7 separate regions of the Homo sapiens genome follow, and regions 1, 2, 3, 4, 5 and 6 are each linked to region 7. Evidence: promoter capture Hi-C in 16 types of primary human blood cells and fetal thymus (Javierre and others, 2016). All regions are on one chromosome and are shown on one strand. Each heading gives the region's core, a stretch centred on a gene start or on the middle of the fragment in contact. The rest is flanking DNA. Distances are from core to core; before and after follow the strand shown.

What was found. Contacts are between HindIII fragments. The CHiCAGO score rates a contact against its expected background, and 5 or more counts as called.
Region 1: a fragment that was not itself captured here is called in contact with the fragment with the promoter of FLJ42393 in region 7 in 2 of 17 cell types (total B cells and naive B cells); the score reaches 5.2 in total B cells.
Region 2: a contact is called between a fragment that was not itself captured here and the fragment with the promoter of FLJ42393 in region 7, in 1 of 17 cell types (total B cells). The highest score is 6.2, in total B cells.
Region 3: a contact is called between the fragment with the promoter of LPP-AS1 here and the fragment with the promoter of FLJ42393 in region 7, in 2 of 17 cell types (total B cells and naive B cells). The highest score is 8.2, in total B cells.
Region 4: a fragment that was not itself captured here is called in contact with the fragment with the promoter of FLJ42393 in region 7 in 8 of 17 cell types (monocytes, activated CD4 T cells, neutrophils and 5 more); the score reaches 8.0 in monocytes.
Region 5: a fragment that was not itself captured here is called in contact with the fragment with the promoter of FLJ42393 in region 7 in 2 of 17 cell types (neutrophils and monocytes); the score reaches 6.1 in neutrophils.
Region 6: a fragment that was not itself captured here is called in contact with the fragment with the promoter of FLJ42393 in region 7 in 3 of 17 cell types (monocytes, neutrophils and M2 macrophages); the score reaches 6.3 in monocytes.

Annotation. Positions count from the first base shown.
Region 1 is chr3:188,670,716-188,673,758 of GRCh38, forward strand. All of the region lies in intron 7 of LPP (LIM domain containing preferred translocation partner in lipoma), which reads left to right. Among named protein-coding and RNA genes, the nearest start is that of MIR28, 17 kb to the right of the region's middle. The HindIII fragment of the contact is 1,600 bases long and covers 849-2,448 here.
Region 2 is chr3:188,583,864-188,587,158 of GRCh38, forward strand. All of the region lies in intron 6 of LPP (LIM domain containing preferred translocation partner in lipoma), which reads left to right. Among named protein-coding and RNA genes, the nearest start is that of LPP-AS1, 17 kb to the left of the region's middle. The HindIII fragment of the contact is 369 bases long and covers 1,363-1,731 here.
Region 3 is chr3:188,566,727-188,570,041 of GRCh38, forward strand. It overlaps LPP-AS1 (LPP antisense RNA 1), which reads right to left and starts at 1,940. Exons shown (of 2, transcript NR_046623.1): 1 at 1,649-1,940. All of the region lies in intron 6 of LPP (LIM domain containing preferred translocation partner in lipoma), which reads left to right. The HindIII fragment of the contact is 3,783 bases long and covers 503-3,315 here.
Region 4 is chr3:187,752,392-187,755,473 of GRCh38, forward strand. No RefSeq gene overlaps it. Among named protein-coding and RNA genes, the nearest start is that of BCL6, 8.5 kb to the left of the region's middle. The HindIII fragment of the contact is 8,209 bases long and covers 1-3,082 here.
Region 5 is chr3:187,790,334-187,793,368 of GRCh38, forward strand. It overlaps LOC105374263 (a long non-coding RNA gene), which reads right to left. Exons shown (of 3, transcript XR_924812.2): 2 at 2,851-3,035; 3 at 2,262-2,732. Among named protein-coding and RNA genes, the nearest start is that of BCL6, 46 kb to the left of the region's middle. The HindIII fragment of the contact is 5,384 bases long and covers 1-3,035 here.
Region 6 is chr3:187,733,708-187,736,790 of GRCh38, forward strand. It overlaps BCL6 (BCL6 transcription repressor), which reads right to left. Exons shown (of 10, transcript NM_001706.5): 2 at 1,162-1,200. Among named protein-coding and RNA genes, the nearest start is that of BCL6-AS1, 8.4 kb to the right of the region's middle. The HindIII fragment of the contact is 8,715 bases long and covers 1-3,083 here.
Region 7 is chr3:188,176,901-188,179,870 of GRCh38, forward strand. FLJ42393 (a long non-coding RNA gene) reads left to right here and starts at 1,643. Exons shown (of 1, transcript NR_024413.1): 1 at 1,643-2,970. All of the region lies in intron 1 of LPP (LIM domain containing preferred translocation partner in lipoma), which reads left to right. RefSeq lists an enhancer at 2,407-2,970. The HindIII fragment of the contact is 11,595 bases long and covers 1-2,970 here.

The DNA.
Region 1 (3,043 bases), core at 399-2,898, 490 kb after region 7:
GGCACATTTGAAGATTATACTTATTTCTGGATACAACCTCCTTTGCCTCCAAACTGAAAGGTTGGAAGGATGACGGGAACAAACTCAAGTCAAGGGATTCCAAATGGTCACATCTTATGACCACAGGCTTTATATTTGGAGCGCTACCATGATTAATGTGTCCTCGTTGCCATCCTAAGACTTCCATCATTTTCTTCCATTGTCTTTCTGACTTCAGCTCCGTTGCTACTTCTGGGCAGTTATAGGTTTCTAACCCAATAGGGCAATTTCAGTTTCCCCCGCGTTTTCTACATAAGTTGTCCTTTCTCCACATATTTGTTTATGCAGTTTAAGTCTTGCCAGATTGTTCTCTCTACGTTCTAAAATCTTTCCAATTTTGAAAGTCTTAGATCAAGTACTACGCAGCTGAAAATGGCTCTGCCTCTTTTATGGCATTTAATATCTACCTTGGATTATAGTTATTATAACGACCATAGATACTAAAACTTTGAAAAGAATAACAATTTGAATTCCTTTGTCCTATCCCCATAGGACCTAGCATTGCCTCTTTCAATTAATAAATGTGTAAGGAATAAATTATTTTGGCATATTATCCCTTGTCTTTTAAAAGTTTCACAGGAGTCCCTTTGCAATCAAGTTAAAGGCTATAAAAATTTAACATCTAGTTGTGTTGGCAGAGTTGTCAGCATTTACTTCAGTTTATCAAACTTCAATATTTATTTAAATTGAAACCAATCAGCCATTTTTTTCTATGCAAATCACAAATCTCATTTATTAATGCCTTCCCCTCCCCCTTTCCCTTACTACATCAATAGGAAGATTACATCTTGACATGATAAAAGGAGACAAGCTTTCGTTAATGTTAAGAATCTGCTCCATGGCCCCCTTTGCCCAGAAAGTCATGAATTCTGATAATCAAGGGGCAGTTGCCTATGTTATTTTTTTTTAAGTTTCTAGTTAATTATTTGCTCTTCCTTATTTGCATTTTGAGATGTAACAGTAGAGCAGTTTACCCATTCTCTCCTGAAAACTATGAGTCTGTTTCAGACAAATTACTATACTAGGCACCCACCCTCAGTGGAGGTGCAGGAGACTCTAGGCCCGGAATGGGTGAAATACCAGAAGTTGCATTTGAATATAATATTGACTAATTAGTCAGCCAGAAATGAGAGCTCTAAACATGCTCTTTTTGTGTCATTTACTGCATTTGTGGAGCATCTAATTATAAAGAAAATAAGTATTCTTCATTGGTTGCTAGTAAAGCTGCCACTGAAGGGCAAAAAGACATATAGCAATCATTGTTTAAATAGAAGCGCTTGAAAATTTTCCATTAATTTTCGTGTTTGCATTTTGAATGCTTTCTTGCTCACACTTGAGGTATCAAACTGAACAAGTCTGAACTGACTGCGTAAGAATTTAAGCAAGAACTGGGAGGGGTAGAAATGAGGAAGCTATTTGCATTCCTGGAAGACAAAACTCACGTTTATAATCTTTCTTGATACTAAGGCAGTTTGTTTCCCAAATGCTATTTATGGTGAGCTTTTTGTCTTCAAATGTTTGTTATAAGACTCTTTTTTTTTTTTAATCATCCAGTGCAGAAGTTCATGAAAGAAAGTGAAAGTGCACCCATACCCCCATTCATTTTCCAGAGCTTACCCTGTTTGGTACATTATCTTGTTGGCTCATGTTTTGCTTGGTTTTGTTTATGCAACTTTTTCTTATTAATTTGTTGTTGTCGTTGGATGGAGTTAGGGAGGGTTAAAGGACTGGAGTAAAAATGCTATTTATCTTTACCCCTTCTTCACTTACAGTGTGTGTACGTTGATGGAGGGGGTGGTGGGGATAGAGGGTGATTTTACCTGCTCCATTTTTGTTTCTATTTGCTGCTACCAGCTTGCTTCTTAACCCTGGGCAGAGGCTGCCCTGCAGGCAGGAGCAGAATAAGCTGTCTGTGCCCTTCCTCTTCCTATACCTTTGAAGATTGGTGCCTTTCACTGTTTTCCAATCGCTTGTTCTTTCCATAAGCTCGTTCCCTTCTCTCCACTGCTTTGACAACACCTTTTAGAGTTGCTCCTGGAGCTGCTGCCAAGACAATAGTATGTTTTCTCTTTTAAAGGTCTAAACCCTGGGAGGAGAGGAACTGGAGGAATTGAGTCAATATAATATACGAATCACTTTATATTTTACTATCTATAATTTAGTTTTTGACTTCCATTTCTAAGGAAAAAATTGTTTTCTTTTATTGTTTTTTTTTTTTCTGTTTCCATTCAGCACTCGTGTACTGAGAATCCCCAAGCTATATTAAGTCCCATTTGGGCCATTAATGTGTGTGCAACATGGTCTGTCTGTTCCAGTAGAGAAAAAGGCATATAAATAACTTTCTTATCACTGGTTATATGCTTTGAAGGAGTACAAATTAAACAACCTGTGGAAGTTCAAGTAAAAGAAAGCTTATTTCCAGTCACGAGAAGTTAAATGTGAGCTGGGCAGATTCATAATAGAGAAGTACCGTTTTTTTGTTTGTTTGTTTGTTTTTAACTCTGAGGGCCCTGTGAGCTTGGTCAATTTACATCATCTCATGAATGACATAGGGCCCTATATGTGGAAACAAATAACAACAACAACAAACCACTGTAGAGTCATATCAAAGAAAAATGAAGGTGGTATTCATCCACATCAATATTAAGATAAATTATTAAATATTTATAAAACTCTTTGACAGTGTACAGCCTCTATAATTAATCAATGTAGCACTTTCTCAATACTTCCCCATTTTAATTAGTACCAACATCAATCATAATTAGGCTCATGCTTTGGTCTCTCTGAGACTTTTAAAACATTATGGGTAGGGGGCATTTTTCAGGATTCAGGTATCAGCTAAGAGTTCATTTAGCCAGTAGATCGTGACCATTCTTCCTCTCCCTGAAGCTATGATTCTGGATACTGTGGCTCTTCCTGCTCCTCCAGACATAGAGAAAATGGACAAGTTTCTCCTTCCCCATTTTGAGTGCATGATGTGAAAACTTAGCTTGTCCAGCCAAAC
Region 2 (3,295 bases), core at 297-2,796, 410 kb after region 7:
ACAAAATCAAATTAATTGGTATTTTACAAGGAGGGAAAGCCCCAGGACAAGTCCCTTCTCTTGACCACAAAGTTCTGTGTTTCTCATCTTTCCTCTTGATGTCTTGGTTTCAGCAAAGCAACATTTCTATCCCTGCCCCCTGCTCCCCCATAATCCTACAAATGTACTATAGATATGTGTAAGTACTACATCCCCAATCAAGTACAGCGTTTGGCCTCGGGTGGGAGTCAAACAGCAAGCTGATTTTTAACATTACTTGGAAGAAATTTTCTAGGTATATAACTGACAAACATTCATGGAGAGCTACTTCATTTTTCTGTCAAGCTTTTGGGGGATTTTTTTTAATAGTTCTGCACTTTGAAAGAAAGTTCACAATTTTTAAAAGGAAATGTGGCCCTTTTCATTAGCTCCTTTTACCTCATGCTGAGTCATGGATGAGAGAGAATTTGTAGGCGGGTGAGCTGCAGGAAAAGTAATACTGTCATTTACACTTGCAGGCTGTTATGCTTTCCAGAAAACTTTTTCCGTAGGTTGCGAAAGTGATTAATCTGCTGTTAAAACTGACAAAGAAGGTTCTCTGATAAGAGAAAGAATTAAATGAGGAATTTTTCTTTAAAAAGTAAGCGCTTCTTTCCCATTTTAGATTAGAAAAATAAGTTTAAATGTTTCTTTTAATTTTAGTCGTGTGTGTGTGTGTGTGTGTGTGTGTGTGTGTGTGAAGTTGGCCATGACTTAATACAATCTCAAGCCATTTTCTATTTAAATTATGTTTTTTTACTTATTGGCATGGCTTATTCCTCATGCTGTATATCTAAATTATTCATTTCTACATCCTGTTCCCTTGCTTGTCTCTCTTTCTTCTTCTTTTTTTTTCCTTTCATTTTCTTTATTTGGGTCTTTTCAATACTTTCAACATCATCTTACTTCGGAGCCCCAGATCTCTTCTTTTCTACCAACCTTTTTTGAAACATTAAAACTGGTGAAGATGGCCTGAGTTCTCTCTGTGATATAAATTTATCCCTCCCTGAAAAATTCCATTCATGTAACATTTTTATAACACTTTTTAAAACTAGGATGAAAGTTTTTTCATGTAGTTGAAATGAAGCATCACTGCCTAAAGCGTTTAGAAATTTTTTTACTGTTGGTTTTAAGAAATTACTCTAGGATTTCCACTGAGGACTGGCAAGTATTGGTGAAGTTTGATCTCTCAGAGCTCATGTTTCAGATGGCAACTTAAAGGGACAAATAAATAAGTCAATCACACGGCATAATCTAACTTTAATATGATTCTGCAGAGAACCAGTGACTCATTTAGAGAAATCAGAGTCCTCAGAAAGGTGGAAAACATGTTAGAACTTATTAAGCTTGTTGCCTTTAGCATGTCAATGCCTTGTTTTTATAAGAAGATTCAATGGGTTGTTAAAATGCACTGTCTTAACCCTCTCCCCTTTGTATTTTTCTACTCTTAAGATGCATCATTTTATGTTGGGATCTATCAGTTTATTTTACTTGTTTTTCCTTCTTCCTCTCCTTATTTTGAAGGCTGACTTCTGAGCTTGAGCCATATCCTTGGCAACTGAATGAATTCATGGGGAGTATAGTAGAAAAGATTTTCTCACAACTCTGACAGCACTGCCCCCTAGTAAAAAAGGGAAGAGACAAAGAGAAATGGTCCCTTCTGCAACTGAAGGGACCAGCACAGGGGACTTGGCATTCTTCTTTTAGTCCTAAAGCTTAGACATACATACTGCTTTCGCCCCTGGGCTACAAATACATGTTTTAAAATTCTGAAGTTGAAAACGTCAAAACCATTTACAATTAAAAACCTGCTATTACTGTATATTTATACAGGTATTTCATAAGGGAAAAAGTAGAAAACATGTAAATGTATTTGTTTTATGTCTGAAGTTCCAAGATTATTTCTGTTTCTTTACTGAATGTGTTTGAAATATATGCAAACACACATGTAAACATACCTGTATATTTATGTACAGATATAAGTCTACATGGAGACCAGCATTTTTAGATAACACTGTTTTACAGGCTGTGCATCCATCTTTAAGGTGCTATAGCATAAGGTCTATGACTGCATTTTGTAATAAAAGATGGCAGGCTTTCTGGAAAGGGTCTCTTTGGGGCAGGAAGAGGTGTGAAGATCTTTTGCATTCTACTTTTAAAGTACAACAAGTTAAATTGCTACCAGATACATTAGCTTTATGGAGGTTTGTTTCCATTTTTATAGCAAAATCAAATAACTTTTAAATCAGAGGAAAAAAATATTCTTTTGTTGTTTTTATTTTTGTTGTTGAGATTGCCTGTTTTACGTTGAGTGCAGTGTTTTTCAGGTGGAAACATATTGGTTTGACATTTTAAGAGGAAAATGTTCTATATGTAATATGAAAGAGTCTTTTTCTTAACTAAATGCCAGCAACAAAATTTAAACCAAAAAATGTAGTAATGAAACAATGGTAATGAGATATGATTATGGTTTAGTGAGAGAAAAAAGCCCTGCAGGGAACAGTACAAGCACAGTAAATTATGAATTGCTACTAAATAGGCCTCATTAGTCCACTGTGGACCATGTTTAATTGATATTAGAAAGGAGTCTGGAAAACTTTGGAAAGTACATGTAAGACAACTTGCTGTTAAACTAATAAAAGTCGTTAGAGTGTCTGTTTCAAAAATTAGTAATTATTAATTGTGTGTGAGGGTCCTCAGGCAGCACCCATTTTACTAAAACATGCTTAGAGAAAAGATATTTCTATGAGAAATGAAACTGCAGAATGCTGAGCAGTGTAATATGTGACAGTTCCCTGGGAGTTTCTCCCCTCCTCGTAGGTATTTTTAGCAAAATAGTCCTTAAACATTGTTTTTTTTTTTTTTAAGTTGGAGTCTCGCTCTGTCGCCAGGCTGGAGTGCAGTGGCCCGATCTTGGCTCACTGCAACCTCCACCTCCTGGGTTCCAGCAATTCTCCTGCCTCAGCCTCCCGAGTAGCTGGGACTACAGGCACGCACCATCAGGCCCAGCTAATTTTTGTATTTTTTAGTAGAGACGGGGGTTTCCACCATATTGGCCAGGCTGGTCTTGAACACCTGACCTCGTGATCCTCCCACCTCTGCCTCCCAAAGTGTTGGGATTACAGACGTGAGCCACCGCGCTTGCCCCTTAAGTGTTGTTTTAAAGAAAGTTGGCGCTCTGGCCGGGCGCGGTGGCTCACGCCTGTAATCCCAGCACTTTGGGAGGCCGAGGCGGGTGGATCATGAGGTCAGGAGATCGAGACCATCCTGGCTAACA
Region 3 (3,315 bases), core at 690-3,189, 390 kb after region 7:
GGATATGATGCCAAATTGGATCTCCAATTTGCCTTTAATTAGTCAGCAACACTTATTTAATGCCCACTAAGCTCAGAGCAAGGCTTGGAGGGTGGAGAAGGGGAGTAAGGAGATCGAAAAACAAATACACTATCATTTCCAGAATAGTTACAGTATCTTTATGCATACAGAAAACAGATAAATGAAAGGATTTAGAAAACTTAAAAGCAAAATCCAAATGAGTGCAAATTGGTCTGATACAAACTGAGCTATATAAATGCAAAGAGGATGCAAATTATAAAAACTTGAAGAGTTTAAAATTGCTATCTTTCTACTTTTATTTTCATAATACTTTGCCATGAGAATTCTTAGATCTCAGGACACCATACCCTTCAGTGAGGAAAGTTTACTGGTTCAATTGTATGATTTAGAGAAACAAACCTAATTCTTAGCATTTTATGGGCTTCTGAGAGATGACGCTGTAAAACTTTTTGAGTCTCTGTTAAACTTTTCTCGTCATTAAAGCTTTTATGTAACCTTGAACAAGTTCCTTAACCTCTCTGCGCCTCAACTTCCACATCATTAAAATGGGGATGATAATAGGACCCATCTCATAGGATTGTTAGGACTATTAAATGTATTATACTCTATTACTTGTATCCTATAAAATATCTTTCTCACAGTTTAATTTCTTGAAAATTGAAACACATCCTATGATTGATGTGGTAAGAAACCATTGTAACACATATTAAGTGACACCTGTTGGTTCTTTGTTAGTAGGTTAGTAGGGAAAAAAAAAGATGCAGTTTATAGTCAAAGCCGTGTGTAAAGTGTGTCTAAAGTGCTTAAAACAAAGCCTGTCATACAGTTGGTCTTATAGAATGATGCTGTTATCATCATTGCCTGAATACCATATTTGTGGTATGTAAAATATTTGTCTCCAATTTCACTGGCTTCTGTCCTATGAAGCAGATATACTTATAGTTCCTGGTCTTTGAGTAAATAGAGCCTAGAAGGATTATCAGATATTACACAACTGCCAAATAATGACTTACATCAAACCAAGAGTTTATTCCTCTTCTCATGCATATCAACACCTGTTTAATCTGATCATGTTTTCAAAAACCCACTAGTGATCTATTTATTTCTAGCTATAGCTTTCATCACCTGTATTTGGTGATTTGTTGCTGGCAGAGTCCATACTCATAACACTAAATCTGACTACTGTGATTACAACAGTCTTTCTAAGTTAGATACCACTAATGATATTGATTAGGGAGAAGGCATTCTTTGTGATCCTATTTGCACGATCTCGGGTAATTCACTTACTGGACCCAATTGTTAGTTGTGAAATGTGAATGTTGAAAGCAGTGAATCTTCCAGCTGCTTGATTTGTGATATCACTATCAATTTACCTACTGAGGAGCTTCATATAAATTGGTCATTTGTAGAAAGTAGTTCAGTGGCTGAGAATCTGGCATAATATTTTATTTTTATGAAATTTCAGTAAACATTATTGAGCAACTTGTAGGTTTCAGGCTCCACGATAGGGATGCAAGCATGTAAGACCTCTGTCCAGCAACTGAGAGGTAAAACTACAATGAGAAAGATAGACTGGTAATTCAGATTTATTTTTAAATAATAGCTTTTTGAGATATAATATACTTACCCTTCAATCCACTGACTCTGGTTTTAAAGGAGATGATTAATACATTCACTCAACCGATATTGAGCATCTGATATGTGCCAGAGACTTCCTATGTGCTAGGGTTATGGAGATTGACAATAGTTATACAAAACTGAGCCTGTCACAAAATGTGTATCGACAGACAGTCTTCCATTTGGTGCTATAGACCAGTACTCAGGGTCAGCAGAGGGTACTCTGGAAGCATATTCAGGGACAAAGCAAACCTAGTCTTGGAAGATCTGAGGAAGTTTCCTATGATCATGTCTGTCTCCTGCCATAACACCCTGAATGCATCCGATCTGAACTAAACTGAGGTCTGACAAACTTGTAGGAGTTTGCGAGGTGAGTGGCTTGGGGAAAGTAGAGAGGAAGAAGTTTTTCTGGAAGAGAAAAGAAAATATGCTGTGGCTCTGAGGTGAATCACATATAATGCACAATAGCTTAGTATTGTGATAACATTTGGGACTGTGTGGGCAGACAGTGGCTGCAGGGCCTGAAGGGTGGAGAGGGGGAACTTACGCTTCAGTAGGGGTGTATATGTCTTATTATGAGGTCACAATGAAGATTGAGGTCAGCTAGAGGATGTGACATTCGAGTTGGGTCACAAAGGATGTACAGGAGTTTTTCAAGGCTGACCACAGTCTAGGCAGAAGAAATTGCAATTGTGAAAGGAAGATTTGCGTGAAAGAATGGTGTTTTTGGCTGAGTGAGGAATTTGAAGTATCTGGAAAATGGAGTAAGTGGCACAGAGAAAGAAAACAGCCAAATAATAATAATAATAATAATAAATTGGTGAGGGTTCGGAGAGCCGCTTACAATTGGATTCGGTGCAATGCAATGACTTTATATGTTCTGTACCTTGTCCTTGTAGGCAGTTGCAGGCACTAGGGACAGGAGTCTGGGGGGAAGACAGGAGCATTGAAAGTTTGAGGAAAAAATGAGAAGCATGCTTTAGAAAGATAATCTGAATATACTTGAATTGGAGGGGCCCTGGATTGTGAATGAAAATTAGAAGTATGTCATCTGTATTGTGTAGGATAGTGCTTATCTACAAAGAATTTTATGTAGAATTCCCCATCAGATTAACCCTTTGCAGCAATAGCCAATTATTTCTGATATTAAAAATTATAATTAAATAAAAGATATGGATTGGTAACTAAACATTTATTGAGAAGTTACTGTATCACTTCCACAAATCAATTCACTTATTTTTCTTAGTAATCCAATGATGTAGCCTGTCATTTCTCCCATTTTTCAGCAGAGGAAATTGTGGCCCAGAAGGTTGTATGTAACTCATCGAGGCACTAAGTGGCAGAGGTCATGTTTCAGCCTCGGCCATCTGGCTCCAAAGCCTAAATGTATGAATTGGCCACTAAAGGCACAACTGAAAATACTAACAGTCCCTGTGTTAGTGAAGAGGGATATTTGGCAAAAAGTTTTTATTTTGCTTTTTTACAATTCAGTGATTTGTAATTTATTTACAGAGTCATGCAATCATTACCTCAATTTAATTTTAGAACATTTAAAAAGTCCATGCTCATTTGCTTCCCATTCTCACTCTAACCCTAGATAACCTCAAATCTACTTTAGTGGTAGTCAGTTTGTATGAATGGCAACTTCAGTTTAATGGCTTTTTTTTTTTTTGAGTA
Region 4 (3,082 bases), core at 421-2,920, 420 kb before region 7:
CTAACAGGACTGAAAGAAGATGACCATCATATGCAAGTTTTGTGTGTGGGATCCAGTGTAGGACCACAGGCTCCTATGACACCATGATTGAATGTTGTTAATAATCTATAATTGTTTTATGAATAGTGCAATTGTATTGTAGTTGTGTGGGTGCTGGTGTTAAAAATATAAGGTTTGAAATATATTTGTCGTAGCAACAAGCACACCTGGTGCTCAGAGCTCAGTTTTGTTTTGTTTTTGTGTTTGTTTTTGTTTTTGACACAGAGTCTCACTCTGTTGCCCAGGCTGGAGTGCAGTGGCGCGATCTCAGCCGACTGTAACCTCCGCCTCCCGGGTTCAAGCGATTCTCTTGCCTCAGCCTCCCGAGTAGCTGGGATTACAGCCCTGCACCACCACGCCCGGCTAGTTTTTGTATTTTCAGTAGAGACAGGGTTTCACCATGTTGGCCAGGCTGGTCTCAGTTTTAATGCCATTTCTCAGCAGCTGGAACCAAGGCTTCTTGGAGAAATTGTTGAGTTCTAAAACTGGGGCAGGAAATACACAAATGAGAATGAAAGATCTTGTAGCACCTTAAAGTAAGGAATTATTCAAAAACAAAACTACATTGGTGAGGGATATTTCAAAAAGACACAGGAGCCACTTGAAGAGCTCCCAGTGGCCAAAGCTGCAACAATTTGAGCAACAAAATAGAATAGTGTTTTACATTATAACCCAAAGTATAAAATAAATATTAATGAGTCCAGGGCTGGGTGCAGTGGCTTACACCTGTAATCCCAGCACTTTGGGAGGCCGAGGTGGGCAGATCACTTGAGGTCAGGAGTTCAAGACCAGCCTGGCCAACATGGTGAAACCCTGTCTCTACTAAAAATACAGAAATTAGCTGGGCATGGTGTCGTATGCCTGTAATCCCAGCTACTCGGGAGGCTGAGACAGGAGAATCCATTGAACCCGGGAGGCGGAGGTTCAGTGAGCCAAGATTGTGCCACTGCACTCCAGCCTGGGCAACAGAGTGAGGCTCCTTCTCAAAAAAAAAAAAAAAAAAAAAGTAATGAGTCCATACTATTATAAATAAATTATTAAGTAAATTAATAAACCAGAGAGAAAAGACAAACATCCCGTAATTCCAAATTTATTTATATAGATGTGCACAGGGATTCCAAATAATTTATAGACATGTGCCGGCCTTAAGGAGGAGAAACAGAAACCCACACTCTTTAATTGTGGGCTATAGATAGTAACTTCTTCCCGGGGAGTATATTCCGTATGGAAAGGTAGTCAGGGGAAAATAGCTTAGGAGAAGCCTGACAAACACTCTCTTAGCCAGGGGATTAAGACCAACATCAACAATGATAAATCATCTTGATAGTATATACTCTTGATAGGATGTGGTGAAAATTGTTCTTTCTCTCTGTGGTCCTGCTCTCATAATACTAGTCTAATCATAAGAAAAACATCAGACAAATTCTAGTAGAGGGGCGTCCTACAAAAAACCAGTAATCCTCAAGCCCATCAAGGTCATCAGAAACAAGGAAAGTCTGAGAAATTGTCACAGGCAAGGATTAGCCTAAGGAGACATGACAACTTAATATAATGTCGAATCTTAGATGGAATAATTGGCCACAAAAAGACATAAGATCAACCTAGACAAATCTGAATCAATGATGAACTTTAGTGAATAATAATGTACCGATATTGTTTCACTGTTACACGTGTACCATATAATGTATTATGTTAATCATAGGGGAAACTGGGCACAGGGTTATTCTCTGTACCATCTGCTCAATTTTTCTGTGAATTGAAACATGTTCTTAAAAATTAAGTCTATTACCTGGAGGAGATATCTATATCTCTATATATCATATAGAGATATAGATAGATATCTATAGATATCTATAGAGGTATAGATAGATACGTATATCATATAGAGATGTTATATATATATATATATATATATATATATATATATATATATATACAGCTGGAGGATATATATATATAATTTTCAATACCAGAAACCTCCAAAAAGTGACCCAGATCTCTCCTGAAATCTGGGAGATCCTGCTTCTCACTCATTTTCCTAGAATAGAGTCAGAGAAATGGGGCACCTCATTTATTCTTTTAGTTTACTAATTTACTCCATTTCTGTATGCCACCATCTGCATAACCATCAGGAGAATACTAGAGAGGCACCAAAGGCCAAATGTTGTTGTTGGGGTAGATGGCTCAAGCCACTTCGTGGACCCCCATATTCAAAATTTCTCTGTGGAAACCCACTAAGGAAACAGTGCTCTCAAAGATCTTGTCATCAGTTTATATGGGGCATGCAGAACTTAGAGATTCATTCATGAAGTTGGGGGAGCCCCAAGAGATTCCAAGAGTGTCTGCTATTTCATTGCACAACTCCAATAGAACTGTGGATCTCATCAGAGTTATGAGTCTCGGTGTCTACAGAGGAGAAGCTCCTATCAGACCCCTTAACCCTATGAGTTTGTCTGCATTATCTGAGTACAACCCAATTCTCTAAATTCTGAAAGCATCTATCTTCATCTTTCGGCTTACCAGTTCTACAGTTGAGAAAGGTCCAGAGAGGAAAGCAATTTGCAAACACCACTTAGCAAATTGGTGGCAGAGCTGATTCCCATCACCAGTTCACCCCGAATCATTTATTTTGTTGCAGTATCCACTTTGGTAAACTGAGGCCTGTTATTGTATTGATGTACATTATGACTTCAAAGATGCTTTTTTAATTTCTAACCAATTGTCAGTTATCAATGGCTTTTACTTCTAATGCTGCACTTGAGTTTTAAGTGTCTCTTCTCTTCTTCCCTTCATGTTTTCTGACATCTATTGGCCTCTCTGCCAAGTAGTTATAAGATCTTTGAACTAACACTTATATTCACTGTGAAAGCCAACATTTAAATAACTCTTGGTGAAGTGCAGTGAGACTAGGTCCTACTGTGTTGATTAGTATGACTTTTTCAGATATATTGGCCACATATACCAAGAATCATAAATATAAGCAGACCCTTTGACCCAGAGATTCCACTTCTAGGAATCTATCTTTAATGCATAATTCAACATA
Region 5 (3,035 bases), core at 201-2,700, 390 kb before region 7:
TCTCTTCTTGTCTTCCTGGATGTTCTTTCTCAGTATCTTTTAAGGGCTGCTTGAGCTCTGTTATTCTATTGAATGCTGTTCCTCCGGTTTTAAAAATATTTTCTTTGACCCTTTCTCACTCTACAAGTTCTCTCTTAAAATGTTATATACTCTTATGGCTTTAATTACTCTCTTGATTCTAATGACTTCCAATTTTAGATTTTTAGACTAGATTGCCCATCTGAGTTTCAAACCTGTGTGTATAAATTCCTCCTGGGTATCTCATAAGCACCTTGAATTCAGCATGCCCCAAGCGCAGCCAATATTCCCCCCTCTCCTTAACCTTTTATTCCTCCTGTGTTTCCATCTAAAGAAAGGGCCCTGCCCTCCCCACTACCTGTCTCTCAAGGCAGAAACATTGCTATCGTCTTTAACCCCCGCTCGCTGTGACTCTCCATCCCTAAGCACTCAGCCGCCAAGTCCTATCAACTCTACTTCCTAAATCTTTCTCAAATTTGTCTACTGAGCCCTATCCCCAGTGTCACTGCCTAACTGCAGTTCCCAGGATTTCTGCCACAGCTCTTAACCCAGCTTCCAGCCCTGGGTTTGCTTTCCTTCTGGTCTCCCACAAAGCACCCCAAGCGGTCTTTCTAAAGCACTCTCTGAACTTATATTTGTCCTGCTTAAAACTTTTTTTACATGGCCTTCAGGATAAAGCCCTAACTCTACAGGAGGCTTAAGCGGCCCTGCCTGATCTTATTCCTGCTCACTTTCCAGCCTTATCTTCTCCTTATCCCAAACCTCACACCTCACTTCACTCTCCCTGCAACTGACAGCATCTGCTTACCAGGACACCTGGACCTCTCTTGCCTCAGATCATTGCATGTGCTGTATCCATCCCTCCACGTTTGTCCTGGATTACTCCAATCATCCCTTCACTCTCATCTTAGAAGTAACATCATTTGTTTATTCATTCAACAAATATTTACTGAGCACCTACTATGTGTCAGGCACTTGTAATACAACAGTGAGCAAGAAACACATGGTCTCTGCCCTAAGAGGCCTTCCTTGACTTTCTAAGACTGAGTTGTCTTCCACAGAACGCTGTCCTTACCCCACATGGCACTGTCTCCAGTGTATTTTAATGACTTTTAAACCAGTGTCAACCAACATTTTATGTAAAGGGACAGATGAGGAACAGTCAACATTTTGGTTTTGCAGGACATAAGGTTTCTCTCAGAACTATTCAATTCTGCAGTTGTGGAGGAACAGTGGCTAAGAGATATATATATAAATGAATTGGCATGGTGTATTCCAATAAAACTTTATTTATAAAACAAACAGTGATCCGGAGATGGCCCATTGGCCATAGTTTGCTGACCCCTGGTCTAAACAGCTAAACTAGGATGTTTTTATTTACCTTTGCATCCACAGTGCAAGCATAGCATTTGACATAGGGGCTTCTCCATACAAGTTTGTGGGATGAATAAGTGAACGGTAAATGAACAAATTAGGATGGACCTGTTTTGCTCTTTTTCCTCTGTGGCCATATCTTCTTGGTCACAATATGCTCCATATTTATTCTGTGTAGTCAGTGACACCCCCTCCCCTCACTTCAGATAGTTTTCATCTCCTGTTCATCTAAACATTCATGTTGAGCAAATACCATATCAGGAATGTGGGTTACTTTGGTGGTCATTAAGATTTAAAGCCTTTGTTACTACCTCTCAAGCATTCCCCACAGCATCGTGTTTGTTTTTCTTTTAGGTATGATGGTTAAATTTTGTACTGTGTAGTTATACTTCATATATTGATTATAGACTTTAGTAATTCTGTGTGCGTATAGATGTATTCATTCCTTTGTTGCATAAATATTTATTTAAATCTACCTTAAAATCTTTCTGGAGCATGTAGGATATTATAAACAAACCGCAATTAAATCAATGTGTAAAGCACTTATTATGTACAGGGCACCAGGAGAAGTTTCAGTGTGCAGTGGGGACAAAGATAATTCAGATAAGGTATTGTCACTAAGGGGCTTATCTGTTAGAAAGGAGGTAAGAATGTAACAGCAAATGATTACAATACAATGTAGAAAGTGCTAACCTCTTTAAGAAAGGAATCAGAAAATCTTAGGAATTAAAATTATCTTGGGCCAAAGAGATCAAAAAAGGCTCAGAGGGAGAAGTATTTGATCTGGAAATGAAAAGGTAGGTATTCAGGATACTGATATGACACTGAAGGGTCTTTGAGACAGAGAAAAGTATAGGCACATCCACAAGTTACTAGAAAGCAAGTTTTAATGAAGCTACAACCAGGGACTGGCTGATAAAAGTGAAGCCAAATCCCTTCAAGAAGGTGCCAAGTCCATTCTGGTCTGGAATGCATTGATAATTGGGACATTATGCTCAGAGACTCCAAATTGACATTCTGTCGTCATCCCTCTTGGAATAGAAACTCTGATCCTTTAAAGTAATTAGCACCAATTTGGAGCATGTGTGCAAAAATAAATCACCAGTGTCCAAAAACAGATACATTAGGTTCAATGGTTATGAAGCAAATGTTCTTATTAGCTCCGCCTACGTAAACAAAATCAGAAGTAATTAGCATTTAAAAATAGAAGAGACAAGAAGAGATCACAGTTCCCACTGGAAAATTATTATTTATATAAAGGTCCACAATGCTGACACACACGACTTGCCCTTCCTGGTCTCAGTCCTGTTTTTCTGTGGCTACAGGATCAGTTTTCTTTCCTGAGGGAAAGGAGAAGAAACTGTGATTGTGTGCATTTCAAACGTCTTGGTTGAAATTGAAAAGTGTGTGTTCTCCACCAAACAAAAATATATCTTTTCTCCATCTCCTCCTCCCTACCTCTTCAGTGTGCCTCATCCCATCCTCTTCTCGGGTGGGGAGAGTTTGCTGTGTCTCGAGATTGTGAGCAGAATCTGCCTCCAGATTGCAGGAAATACTATTGGCCTTTGCACACAAGACACCTACCTGTTGGAGAAAGCGTCAGTAGCCCACATTGAAAGGCAGCAGCTCTCATTAACTCACCT
Region 6 (3,083 bases), core at 281-2,780, 440 kb before region 7:
AAAAAAGAGGCCAAAATCCTGTTAGTCCTCCAGAACCTGTTTCCTGCTTGCCACAGGTATCAGAGCAGGTGGCTTAGCCTGCTAAGGTACAGAATGCAACTCAGGTCCCTTGTATTTGATCTTTGAACAATTCATAGTCCAACTCTGGCCATTATTCTTCATAGTTTTAAAATGGGGAGAATAACTTTTATCCAACAAGTTGGGATAGAAAGCCCTTTAGGGGAAAAGCAAAGGGAATGAATATTTGTTGAGTGTTTTTCCCACATACCAAATACTCTGCCAAGCACTGACAGGTAGTGAGTATGTTGCAATGGAGAGACACCGTGTTTTTTGTTTTTGTTTTTGTTTTTTGAGATGGAGTCTCACACTGTCACCCAGGCTGAAGTGCAATAGTGCAATCTCAGCTCACTGCAAGTCCGCCTTCCCAGGTTCAAGTGATTCTCCTGCCTCGGTCTCCCGAGTAGCTGGGATTACAGGTGCCTGCCACCATGCCCAGCTAATTTTTTTGTATTTTTAGTAGAGATAGTGTTTCACTATGTTGGCCAGGCTGGGTCTCAAACTCCTGACCTCGTGATCTGCCCAACTTGGCCTCCCAAAGTGCTGGGATTACAGGCATGAGCCACCGCGCCCAGTCAAGACACTGTGTTTTAAGATTATCAGGCTAGACTTGCCTTTTGCTAGCTGTGGGACTTTAAGCAGGTTGTTTACTGGTTTGGGGCTTTGGTTTCCCCAAATGGAAGTAGTAATACCTATGTGGTTATAAAAGTTAGAAATACATTCCTCGTTCATAGGAGGCTCTCAAAACTCATAGCTATTCTCATAGGTATCTTATTTCATCATCTCAGTCACCATTGGTCTCTCTCTACTGTTAGGCTTTAGAGTTGCTTGACTTTTGTACCTCGAGGAGCTAGCATATTGTTGGTGAACATTAGCTGGCTAAATTAGTTTGTACAAAGAAAGAGTAACAATGATTGACCATGCAAGTGGTAAGACAGTCTAATACAGAGGTGAAGGATGAGGACTAGGAGTGATGTAGAGGGAACTGGTTATCCTTGTCTCATATAATGAACAGTGGCAAAGTTCACAGAGACACATGTATTGGCAAATTCAAAAGAAACAGTTTGTCCCAACATTTTAAAGCATATAATTTTATTTACTTACCCAATGCCTTGCTTCACAGTCCAAAATTTTGCTCAAAACCTACAGAGAAGAGAAGAAAGCAAACAGAAATTGATTTAACGAATGTAAGATTGTCCACTATAGTCTTATTTTAGGACATACACATTTAGTTTTGCTTTGATAGTTGCAGCTTGCCAGCTGGTGTGGTTTTACCACAAGCTAACAAACATTTTCCAGCTCTGCTCTTACGGAAACAACAGGCACCCGAAGCTATGAGATAATAATGTTTTTATCCAGAGTACTGGGAGTACAATTGCATACATTAATTAGTTATACATACATACATACATATATTTCCTTCTTCAAAGAAAAAATTTATACTATCCAAAGGCCACTAGAGTTTATGGGAAAGAAAAAATAAGAAAAATGGTTCTGTCAACATTAACAATAACGATTCGTCCGTGGCCTAAAACCACTGGACGTCATTCAAAACCTGCTAAAATATTATCTTTCAAGCCTTAGAATGATTCCGCAAGGACGATAGGGCCAATATCTTTATCCTTATTTCACTGGCGATGAAACTGAGACTTAGGGGTTCAAGTGGCTTGCTCAAGACAAACAGCTAGGCAGTATTTCCTGCCCATCTGAAACATTAAGACTGAATATAGACTCTGCAGAACACAGCCTGAGATGTCATGTCTACGTATTCCTTGAAAACCTTTGTCTTCTTTTTCAAAGTGTTCTCTCCCTTCCCTACTGGGTCTAAGACCAGACAGAATGCCATTGCTTCTAAGTTTGTGCTTCTCCCTGCTGGTAAAAGACTTAACTATGTGATTTAGCTGAGAACTGGCCAGGGAGCACTAAACCTTGAAGAGATTTAATGAAATATGTACCTCCTTCCAAACCGGCTTCTCTAAAACAAAATCATTAAAAGCACAGGTGTAAGACCCTCATTTATGATCAAATGTGGGCTGCAAAATAAAACAATATTTGAACTGTCTTCCCCCCTTTAAAAAAAAAAAAGCAGAACCTTTTAGAGCTATTTTCTGGGTAAAGAGGCCTGAGGCCAACAAGGTCATGTTGGGCCATGTACATGGTTGGTGACCCGGCCCTAGGTCTTCTGGCTCAAATTCCTGTCCCCTTTCCAAATCAGCCTACGTGCTGTAGAACATGCAAGACAGCACCCTGATGTGGGTGAATCTCATTTTTAAGTTCCTTCCCCCACACAAACACTTTGCCCCATTCCAGGCTGCTGAGTCTTACCAAATGAGCACTCTAAAATGAGAGGTTTCCTTGAGTCTGTAACCAAACACTCTGACATTTCTCTGTGGTCCCAAGTGCCAGTCACTCAATCCCATCGGCTCCAAGGTTAGTGTGTGCATGTGAGTGAGTGGGGACTGGAGGGAAGGAAGTGGGGAAGGGAGAAGACAGAAAAAGACAAAAGAACCTATCTCCTCCTCTCCCCAGCCCAACTCGAGATAGGCAAAGAGAGATAGACTAACTCGGTCTTTACCAAACTTCAAGGATTTTCTCCTTTGCAAAAGAAAGCTGAAGACACATGGGAGTGGGAGGTTTACTTAAAAACTTTCCTCTCTTCCTTCATGGAAGGGATCCTCAAACACTTCTGGAATACCTAGGCTGTTCTTTAACCAGCTTCAACCACCAGCTCGCTTGTGGATTTCCAGTCGCAGGCTTCTGGAACCACAGGAAGCCCAGATTTGCCATTTCACCATGACAAGTGGCAATGACTCACTCCAGATGCGGATTGAAACAAACAAACAAATTCCCCTGTGTCCACTGTCAGCTGGGCCTTGGGCTTTTCACCGTAAGCCTCTGCCTGGCCAAAAACAAATGTACATACACGAGGCGCAGGTCCTTCTCAAGTTCACTCCTTTGCAAGCCAACTCGTCTTAAGAACCAGCCCCCCCCAACTCCTGAGTGTGTGGGTTGAGTGTGGGCAATGT
Region 7 (2,970 bases), core at 393-2,892:
TGGGTTCAAGCCCCAGCTTTGCCACTAAATGGCTGTGTAGTCTTGAACAAGTCACCTGCCCTCTCTGAGCTATAATTTGAAATAGACTTAGCTTAAGCAACAGGAAAGCAGTAATGAGCTAGAGGAAGGATAGAAATTGGGAAGAAGTATAAATCTGCTTAGGAGATGGCAAGTTTGGGGCTGAGGTGGAATTGATCTGAGGGAGAGACCTGGTAGAAAGAGCTAGGCAGTATGAGGCTGAGTGTCTGAAGGGGTAGCAGGCCTGGGGGTGGTCCAGTGATGGTTGAATGGGTGGGCCAGCCCAGCGAGGGGATCGCCTGCAATCCAGTAGAGATGCCCTCATTTTCATGGCAGGGTCCCCCTGTGCCAGTAGACAGACCCAGGCCTGGGAAGGAGGGCTGGTTGAAGTGAGATGGATACCAGTCTTGGAGCATGGTTGGAGAATCTGTCCAGGGTGATGGCATCTGTTTTGGATTGGGGCCTTGAGGCACATTTTCAGTTCTGCTCCCTGGACCAGCATAGGAGGGTGGCAGACAGTACAGTGATTTGAATACAGGATTGATCCTGCCACCTTGATTTCTGCCTTTATTTAGCGGCAAAGACACTAGATCAGAAAAGTACTGGATGTGATTGCTGTAGTCTTTCATGATTGATTTAGGAGCTGGGAGAGGCCTGGCTAGGAGTTGGAGGATCCCTGGGAAGATGAAGATTAGGTCTTACGTGAGCCTCAGCCCTCTCCTCTGTAAAATGGGAGTAATGATGGTAATTATGCTGATGTTACCTATTCTGACTGGAGTAAGGATTAAAGTACTTGTCTGGAGGAAGGCACTTCATGGTTAAAACATGAAAAGAGAAGTGCACAGTGTTTTTATTACAGGGAAACACCAAAGAGCTGGAAAGGAATGAGGGCTGGAGAGATGGAGCTGCCCTGAGGACTCTGGGAGGTCATCCTGGGGGCAGAACTTTGACAGTTGCTGCCCGAGGTGGGACAGGGATGCTGGGAAGATGTGACGATGTGCATAAGTGTGTCATGTTCAAGATGGTTCTAAGCCCTGGCCAATTCCATACATGCTCTTTTCCTTTCTCATCCATAGAGGTTTTGGCAAAGGCATACTTGGGAGTGTTGATATAGCTGACACTGCAGCACCCTCAGTTTACAGGTGTGAGAAGAGTGAGGCTCCCACAGTCTCACTTGGACAGGTAGTCAGGGCTCTGATGGAGCTCCTGGAGTTTCTAGGTTCTCTGTCACTTGATAGTCAGTGCTGGGAGGGACCTCAGGGAATCAGCCAATTTCACAGATGGGGAGAGTGAGGCAGGTTGGGAATTCTGGCCCCAGTGGAGGGCACCACATGCCCACAGGGAAATGTCTTTCCCAGCCCCCTCCTCATGCTTCTCCTCTTTTCTGTCTGGAAGTCCTAGTTCTCCTCCTCACGCTGAGACCCAGGTAGGGTGATTGTCCATGTTTCTTCATTTATCTGTTTTTTTTCTGTTGCCCAGGGACTACTCTAAGCACCATGCTGGTTGCTGACTGTTCGCTTTTGCAAGATCTTGGAATCTCTGTTTGTTCACATCACAACTCAAGAGGATACGTTCTCATTCTCCCAATGTTTGTCTTCTGCCCATTGCATCAAATTGCTCTTCCTTGTTTGGAATTAAACTTCTAGCAATCATTTACCTTTATGGTTCTCTTAACTTCAGGTCACACTGTTGTTTAGTCAATGTGAGAATCTTTCAGATGTTCTGCACTTTGCAAAAGGATATTCACAGCCAATGTGTGCGGCAGTGAAGGACACTTGTTGATTCCTTATTTATTGTCTGCTGTTCCAGGGACCGGGGACTAGAGGTGAATAAAGCCTTGTTTGGGCTGTCTAGGATGTTGTGATCGACACAGGAAACAGACATGAAAGCCAAATTGGCGCAGTGGGTGAAGTATTGTAATACTGGTCTCTGTTTATGATATATGGAAGAAGTTTCCTAGTAGCAGGGTGGGTGAGAGAGTCCATCATCATTGCAGATTGGTGCCTCTGTGGACATGCAGGTATATTAGGCCAGAGGTGGGGAGTGGGAGAGAGAGGGAGAGAGAGAGCACGACAAAGAGAGAGAGAGAGAGTGAGCAAGAGAGAGGGAGGGAGAGAGACAGAGAGAGAGAGAGAGAGAGAGAGAGAGTGAGCAAGAGAGAGGGAGGGAGAGAGACAGAGAGAGAGAGAGAGAGAGAGGTTTTGAGAGCATTGATATGGGGTCTACATATTCCCCCCGGCCCCCATTCCCTATTATCATAGAAGCATGCTGCCCTCCAAGGCTTTTGAATTTGCCACCGTGAAGAGCATGCATGGAATCTTCGGCTGTGGCCTTGCATTGCCCCCTGTCTTCGCAGCGGAGCTTCTTTATCTGACCCGTGCATGTGCCTCTGATGAGCAGCCCTTCATCACAGCTCTGCGGCCTCCTCCTAGGCCCCCGCCTTCAGCTCTCCAGTTCATTTCCCGCCTTGTTCCCATTGCCACCTGCGGGCTTGGAGGGCCACCTGACATTCTGTCCTTTGGGTCCCCTGTGACTCCAGAGCTCCTTCCCTTCTGGGGCGCCCACATCTGCGACACGCTTGTTTGCCCAGTGCATTTTCTACACTTAGAGTTCCTCTCGTGCTCTCATATTTCCATTTAAAGCCCTCTCGAGAGGTCTGTCTCCTGCCAGCAGCATTCCTTCTAGTTTACTAGAACTCCATTTCTCATCCTGCCAGGAATCCAGCCGTGGAGTGAGCTTCAGCAAGCCTCTCTGCAGTCTCTTGTCTGCTCCAAAACTGTGGCCTCTGGTTGTGAGAAATGGGCATCCTGAGTCAGTGAGAGCAGTAGTTAGCTTGCAGCAGCTTCCCCTCTCCCCCTGAGTGAGCCTTTCTTCCTCTTCCTCCTCTTTCATTCAGCCTCATCCTGCCTTGGGTCCATTTGACAGATAATGGCACCTTGAGGCCTTGTCTTT